3 separate regions of the Homo sapiens genome follow, and regions 2 and 3 are each linked to region 1. Evidence: promoter capture Hi-C in 16 types of primary human blood cells and fetal thymus (Javierre and others, 2016). All regions are on one chromosome and are shown on one strand. The core of a region is centred on a gene start or on the middle of the fragment in contact, and the rest is flanking DNA. Distances in the headings are between cores, read along the strand shown.

What was found. The method cuts DNA at HindIII sites, captures the fragments that hold promoters and counts their contacts. A CHiCAGO score of 5 or more calls a contact.
Region 2: a contact is called between a fragment that was not itself captured here and the fragment with the promoter of EXOC1 in region 1, in 2 of 17 cell types (fetal thymus and total B cells). The highest score is 7.6, in fetal thymus.
Region 3: a fragment that was not itself captured here is called in contact with the fragment with the promoter of EXOC1 in region 1 in 1 of 17 cell types (fetal thymus); the score reaches 7.4 in fetal thymus.

What each region holds. Positions count from the first base shown.
Region 1 is chr4:55,852,254-55,854,953 of GRCh38, reverse strand. EXOC1 (exocyst complex component 1) reads right to left here and starts at 1,306. Exons shown (of 19, transcript NM_001024924.2): 1 at 1,001-1,306. RefSeq lists a silencer at 1,415-1,514. The HindIII fragment of the contact is 2,625 bases long and covers 49-2,673 here.
Region 2 is chr4:56,527,710-56,530,409 of GRCh38, reverse strand. It overlaps LOC105377665 (a long non-coding RNA gene), which reads left to right. Exons shown (of 4, transcript XR_941077.1): 1 at 1-60; 2 at 1,993-2,034. Among named protein-coding and RNA genes, the nearest start is that of SPMAP2L, 1.5 kb to the left of the region's middle. The HindIII fragment of the contact is 1,855 bases long and covers 436-2,290 here.
Region 3 is chr4:56,833,429-56,836,128 of GRCh38, reverse strand. No RefSeq gene overlaps it. Among named protein-coding and RNA genes, the nearest start is that of SPINK2, 13 kb to the right of the region's middle. The HindIII fragment of the contact is 4,006 bases long and covers 1-2,700 here.

The DNA of each region.
Region 1 (2,700 bases), core at 57-2,556:
CAGCACTTACTGCATTTGCCGTCTAATGGGCTCATTAAATCATAAGCTTCTCTATCTCAAGAATTCTCTTAAAGAAGGGAGGGATGTTCATCATAGTTTTGTGTTTAGTGGATACTTAAATATCTATTAAGGTAATTAGAACTGAATAGTAAAAACTGGTCAAATGAATAATAGGGACCAACGTTTACCACATACTCCTTCTCTGGCTAAAAGCAACTGAGTGTACAGTAAGAGGCAAAACAAGACAGGATTGGGCATACCTCATAAAGGAGTTAGCCATAATGAAAAGCAGTATGTGACTCTTCATTCATTCAGCAAATACTCATGCTTATTAGGTGGCAGACACTATTCTAGGTTACAGTAGTCAACATGACAGATATGTTTATGAAGACCTGAAGCCGGGTGTTTCTATGGCATTTACATCCTAAGAGTCGAGTGATTAACTCTTCAGTCTTTACGGTACTTTTCTGAAAGTCAGTAAATAAATCCCTAGAGGTCCTCTAAAATTATTCTCCAGGTCTGAGAACCCATATCTGACCACGTTCCAAAGGCAGCCATCCACTGCTTACTCTGTACTGGTTGTTTCCTTCAGCTCAGTTGGACCACCACACTGTGTGACAAATAGCCTGTCAGTGTGAGTGCCCGTGTGCATTGGGCCCTGTATGCTGCTGAGATATATTAATGCATGAAGCATTGCCATCTAGAAGATATAACTGTGCAAGGAAATAGAGAAATACACTTAAGAGATTTGGCGGGGGGTGGGGGGGAGTTGGGGTTGGGGGGCCGGGATGTGAATTTGGACAAAGAGGAAGGCACAGTCACGCTCTCCTCTCCTGGACCACGCCAAAGAGCTTACGATCAGGGTCATTTTGCACAAACAAAATCTGGTTCCGATGGGCGGAACCGTAATGGGGCCCGTGAGGACTGCCCTCCCAGCTCCGCATTCTCCTAGACCCGAGGACAAGGGACTGGAGAATGCTCTGACCAAACTTCGTCTTACCGGGACAAACGGGGAAAGGAAGGTCAGAAGGAGCGGTGCCCGACCCCAGGCGTGGAGACAGCAGCCGGACTGAGGAGCCGCCTTAGACCCTGGTGCCTGTCAGCTCGTCTGTCCGCCGCCGCCGGGACTACCGGGCAGCCGCGGCCGAAGGCTTACCGCAAGGCCGGACTGAGCCTGGCTGTGCCGAGGCGGGTCTTCCAAAACGGAGACCGGATGGGGGCCACTAGGATACGCCCCTCAATAAAGCGTTGAACGGGAAGCGGCCGTTCCCCCAACACTTCCTATATCCGGGCACGTGACAAACTCCGCGCCGGAAGTTGACCGCGTAGAGAAGGAAGAAGCAGCGATGGGAGAAAAAGGGAGCGGCCAATAGACGCGGAGGGGCGGGGCGCCAACCGACGGGCGTGGCCAGGCGGAACAAGGCCTCATTGGAGGGGCGTGTCAGGGAAGGGCAGGGGCGGGGCCTTTGTGGCACAGAAACTGACTTGGGAGTTGGGGATTAAGAGTTATTTATTCAGATATTTGCAGCAATTCATTTAAGAAGAAATTCGATTAAATGTTTTCTTTTTTCATACGTAAAGCTCTATTAACTCTAGATCTTTGCTACTTAAACTTTGGAGAGCTTAAATGAGTTAAATCAGAATCCCTGCGGGTGGGACCCAGACATCAGTACTTTTAATATCTTCCCAGATGATTCTCATATGCAGCTAAGGTCAAGAACCATTGTCCTCATGACCTTGATACTCAAAGTGTGGTCCGTGGATCAGCTGCTTGGGTATCATCTGGGGGCTTTTTAGGAAATGCAGCCTCTCTGGCTCACTTCAGATCTACTGAATCAGAATCTGCATCTTAGCAAGATGATGCTTATGCATATTTAAGTTTGGGATGCATAAATGATGCCAATGTTGCTGGTTGCAGGTAGGTGTTTTATTTATTCAATATTCCTGGCACCTTTTTTTTTTAATGCTAGGCACTTTGATTCCAGGTACAGAGGTGATTCAGGCATGAATCTTAACCTAAAGGAGTTCACAGTGTGGTAGGACTAGACAAGGTGTAGGTACAAATATATATAAAATAGGACACAAAATAAGTGACCAAAGAGAGGTACAGATCAGATAAATGTGCTAGAAATTTAAATGAGCAAACAGTAGTTAGAATACTTTTCACTTTCATCAAATGACTTCCCTTTTAAGAGCAGGATCTGGTTATATCTTTACAAAGACCCTTTCCTGCTTGGCACCGGAATGCTTACTGTGGACACTCTATGACAATTGCATGTGTTTTTTGGTCCTATTATCTTTCTTTTATTTACCTGTATGTTTATAGCCCTCCTCAAAGTTGGGAAATGAATTGCATTTCAGAAGCCTAGATCTCTTTCTTGAACCTCAAGATTTGTGTATATACTGCCCATCGCCTGACATTTCCACTTGGATGTCTTATAGACACCTCAAACTTGTGTGTCCAAAAATTAAATTATCCTCTCTCCTCTTGGATTCCCTGCAAAGTGACACTTATATGCAATAGTTTATTTGGAAATTTGATCCCAGGGAGCAAAATGAGGGAAGAGGAAGAAGACAAAACAAAAAGGGAGATGCAGTATAAGAATGTGTTACTGAGTTGGTCATCACCATATTTGAATGTTTTCTTAGTCCCTTAGGACCTTCTAAGAAGCTTTATGAAATGAGTCTCAGAACTGTCCA
Region 2 (2,700 bases), core at 114-2,613, 680 kb before region 1:
GACGCACCACTCTCCAGGACCTTCTGGGCGCATCTGGGGACTAAGAAAAGCCAGAGACAGGTCGGTGGAGATAGGAGACGAGATGCTGACCCTGTTCCCCGTGTCCAGAGCAAGGATTCTCGCCTGCTGTCGTTCGCGGAGGCCCTGGGGTAGAACATGTCAGTTTCTAATCTAGTTAGGGCGCCCCTCAGACCCCAGAGGCAATCTGTAAAGAGCTTGTGCCCAGAGGTTCCTGGACACAATCTCTATACGGGCTTTTGTCCCCTAATCATGCTGGGAGAGGATGCCGAGACTGATAATATTCTAAGGCCCTCAGTTACTAACACTGATTTCCATCAATTTCTAGTTAAATGCACGACCATCAGAATGGAGCGGGGGCGGGGGGCGGGGGGTGTGGGGGAGGTGGATCCACCAGTGCGACATTTGACATAAGCTTACATTCAAGAAGAGTCTCAAACTTGAATGTTTTACTTTATCTCCACATGAAGTTCTATACACAGTCACAAAGAAACACTGACTGGATTAAAAGAAAAATATATTCATCTACAACTTGTGTCTCATTACAGGGCTCACTATCTACTGAAGCATGCTATCAGCTACTTTTTATAAAGGGCTGTAATTATCTTGTGAACAGTACAACTGTGTGCTGTGTTCTGTGGGTGCGTCCATTAATTTGTTAACTGTGGTATCTTTTAAATATACCACACTTCTTGTAACCCTGTTTTTGGCATCCTCTCTTTTTTATCACTTATTATACCAAGAGACTTTAAAAACATAGGTGGCCTGGCCGTCTCTCAATCCTTGAGGAGTGCTTTCAGCTAATTTTCATGGTGGTGACAGTGTGATAGAGGGGAATAGAAGTGGTGGAGTTTTACTGATGTGTTTATTTTCAAGGGAAGGGACTAGAGGTGTTGAGGAATAAGTTGTCTGTTAAAATATTTAGTAAACCCAAGTACCCCTTTTGCTCGTTACTGGGTATTCCTTGTATGTACTTAGTCTCATAGATGCTAAGAAAAGTTAGAAGAGAAATATTTTGGATTGTGAATGTTATCTGGAATGGAACTAGAAGATTCATTCTAGCATGTGCGTATATGAATCGGAATCTCCTTCAACCTTACTTTGATAGAGATGTGTGTAATATTGTATGGAAGTTCAGGAAATATCCCCCAAAACTTGGAAGGAGAAATAAAGCTACTCTCAGAGAGTTTTAACTCAACCTTTAAACCAATCAGGGAGGAGTTATGTAAATCCACCTTAAAGAGGCAGGATGGCCCTTAAATCAGTAAAAGTAGTCCCTGGTTACATGAAATGTCTTCGAAAGTCCAAAGAACATGTCAATTGAAAGAGGGGGATTCAGGCCACTGTGAATGTACAGAATGAGCATCATAGAGGCTGTGCCTTCTCAAAAACTGCAGAAAGGAGGGGATCTAAGCCAATAGACTGCAATTGTTACAGCCTATCTTTTAGGCCCACTTGCTATGAATGTGGTGCCACTGTATATCAAAATATTCATGTTTAGCTTTCTTTCCTTCTTTTTTATTTGGGACAGGGTCTGGCTCTGTCGTCCAGGCTGGAGTGCAGTGGAGCAATCTTGACTCACTGCAACTTCTGCCTCTTGAACTCACACCATTCTCCCACCTCAGCCTCTTGAGTGGCTGGGACTACAGGCGCATGCCACCACGCCTGGCTAATTTTTGGTATTTTTTTGTAGAGACAGGGTTTTGCCATGTTGCCCAGGATGGTCTCAAACTCCTGAGCTCAAGCGATCCACCCACTTTGGCCTCCCAAAGTGCTGGGGTTACAGGCATGAGCCACTGCACTGGGCACAGGCAGCTTTCTGACATGACTTGCTTCTCAAGGAGTCTGCTTATTGGGAAAGATTATAATGATCACATAGAATGAATTCTTTTCCAAGTCTGTCTTAGTTCATTTTATGTTGCTATAATAGAATACCTGAGACTGGGTAATTTATAAAGAATTTATTTCTCATAGCTCTGGAGGCTGGGGCATCCAAGTGCATGGCTGTGGCATCTGGTGAGTCTTTCTTGATGCAGCATAGCATAACATGGTGGGAGGGCTGAACATGAAAGAGAGGCACCAGGGCTGGACTCATTTTATAACAACCCACTCCCACCATAATGACATCATGATAAGGTCATGGCAGGCCACCCAGGCCCATCATCATCTCTCTGGATTCTACAGTGGCCTCCGAACTGGTGGAACTTCTGACTTTTACCTTTGATCACCTCCAATCATAACACTCCAAACCATTTTTTTAAATCCTCAAGCTTTGCATTATAAGGTGTTCCATACTCTGGTTATTTTTTCCCTCTCTAGTCTACTTTGAGCCACTCCACCCTTGCTGTCTACATTCTGGCCTCCCTACTCTTCTCTAAAGTGTCAAGCTCTTTCCCATTTCAGTCTCTTCTCACACCTGTTCCCACTGCGTGGAGCCCATTTCTTCCCACTGTTTACATACTGGCTCTTTTCTAGCCTCTGGGGCTCAGCTTAAATATTACCCACTCAAAGAGGTCTTTCCAGCCCATATTAATTTTAAAAATGTTCCCACCATTATTTTCTATTTCATTTCCTTGCTTCAACATAATTTGTAATTATTTCATCTGCTTGTTTATTTTTGTGTATTTCCCCAGCTAGAATGTAAGCTCCTTAAAGACAGTGAAATTCTCTGTCCTGGTTACT
Region 3 (2,700 bases), core at 3-2,502, 980 kb before region 1:
CCCTAGACTCACTGAATCTGAGTGATTCATATGGACATCAAAGTTTGAGAAGAACTGCTTTAGCCACATGGAGTCTCTTGGAATTCTCTAAAGGAGTCACGCTCGCCTTTGCACATGCTGATCTTCCCAAGTCAGAAATACCCCTTTCTCTATCTGCTAGGCAAGCTAGCCTCTTATTTACCCTTCTTATTTAACTAATCATCAGGGAACCGGCAAAAGAAGAAAGATAGGGGAGACTGGTAAATATATAGTCAGTGGGAAAAAGAATGCTGGGATAAGACTGCAATATGAAATATAACACTGCTTAATATTCACAGAGCAATGAAATGGCAACCTTTGGAGATATCTTTTCTTTCTTTCTTTTTTTAAACAAGAGTCTCGCTTCTTCGTTCATGCTGGAGTGCAATGGCGCGCTCTTGGCTCACTGCAATCTCCACCTCCTGGATTCAAGCAATTCTCCTGCCTCAGTCTCCCCAGTAGCTGGGATTACAGGCATGTGCCACCAAGCCTGGCTAATTTTTGTATTTTTAGTAGAGACTGGGTTTCACCCTGCTGGCCAGGCTGGTCTCAAACTCCTGAAGTGATCCACCTCAAGTGATCTACCCGCCTCGGCCTACCAAAGTGCTGGGATTACAGGCGTGAGACACCGCACCTGGCCTGGAGATATCTTTTCTACCCAACAAAATCATTTGCCACTTATTTTCCATAAGCTAACATCTAACTTTACAGACTCCGGACCCTATCAATGGTAAATAAATGAAATGAAATGACTTCCTCTACAATCAGACAACTTCCATGCCGGCCTTTTAGACAGTACTCTAGTATGACTTTGAAAGGACATATTTGGGCCGGGCGCGGTGGCTCACGCCTGTAATTCCAGCACTTTGGGAGGCCGAGGCGAGCGGATCACAAGGTCGAGAGATCGAGACCATCCTGACCAACATGGTGAAACCCTATCTCTAATAAAAATACAAAAAATTAGCTGGGCGTGGTGGTATGTGCCTGTAGTTCCAGCTACTCAGGAGGCTGAGGCAGGAGAATTGCTTGAAACCACCGGAAGGCGGAGGTTGCAGTGAGCCAAGATCATGTCACTGCACTCCAGCCTGTGCAACAAGAGCGAAACTCTGTCTCAAAAAAAAAAAAAAAGGACATATTTGGAGGACACATTAGGATAATTTTTCTTTTTTTTTTTTTTGAGATGGAGTCTGTCTCTGTCACCCAGGCTGGAGTGCAGTAACGTGATCTTGGCTCACTGCAACTTCTGCCTTCCGGTGGTTTCAAGCAATTCTCCTGCCTCAGCCTCCCGAGTAGCTGGGACTACAGGTGCCCACCACCACGCCCGGCTAATTTTTTTGTATTTTTAGTAGAGATGGGGTTTCACTGTGTTAGCCAGAATAGTCTCGATCTCCTGACCTCATGATCCACCCACGTTGACCTCCCTAAGTGCTGGGATTACAGGCTTGAGCCACTGCGCCTGGCCGGATAATTTTTCTTAAATGTTTAAACTTGGTGCCAGAGGCAATATGGAGCATACATGTTGGGTTGCCAACTTGATCCACAATTGAATTTGAATTATGTTAGCTTCAGGGGTAAAGTTTCTATCTACATCACAGAGCTGAATGGTAAGGAAAACCATATTGAATTAGGCTTGTCTTTTAATTTTTTGTAGAGATGGGACTCTCACAATGTTGCCCAGGTTAGTCTCAAATCCTGGCCTCAAGCGATCCTCCCATCTCCGCCTCCCAAAGTGCTGGGATTAGAACACCCAGCCAAATTCTATGTTTTGACCACTGTATTTTCCTAGCTGTTTTCCAGCTAATCAGAAGCACATACAAGTCAAAAATACCCAGAACACATAATTTCACAATACCTTGTAGAAAGCAGGGCAAGAACGGTTATATTAACATGTAATTCTAAGTCATATAATTGTTTTGTTTATGGTGAGCATATTTTGTAAAATAATTGGGATGCCTACTGCCTACTCTGACAAAAGTTGTTTTAATTTTTCTCATAGAAACTTGGGAATCTTTTAGTTGAAAGTTTCACAAATGTCTAAACATTAAATTACATTATGTTTAAATTGCCCTTCATTGTAGAATATAATAAAATTACCTATTCTTTTTTTTTTTTTTTTTTTTTTTTTTTGAGAAGGAGTTTCGCTCTTGTTGCCCATGCTGGAGTGCAATAATGGCCAGATCTCAGCTCATTGCAATCTCTGCCTCCTCCCAGGTTCAAGCAATTCTCCCGCCTTAGCCTCCTGAGTAGCTGGGATTACAGGCATGCGCCACCACGCCCGGCTAATTTTGTATTTTTTTTTTAGTAGAGATGGGATTTCTCCATGTTAGTCAGGCTGGTCTCAAACTTCTGACCTCAGGTGATCCTAACTGCCTACGGCCTCCCAAAGTGCTGGGATTACAGGCCTGAGCCACCGCACCCGGCTAAAATTACCTATTCTCAATACTTAGACTTAAGGCCACTACGATTTACTAGATCAGCATTAATTACTCAGGTTCATTTAAATCATGATGATGTTAAAGAAGGAAAAGAGAATCTGTATGCTCAGAATATTTTGAATTATATACCTTTATGGCCGGGCACACTGGCTCATGCCTATAATTCCAGCCCTTTGGGAGGCCAAGGAAGGGGAATCACTTGAGGTCAAGCCAACATGGTGAAACCTCATCTTTACTAAAAATACAA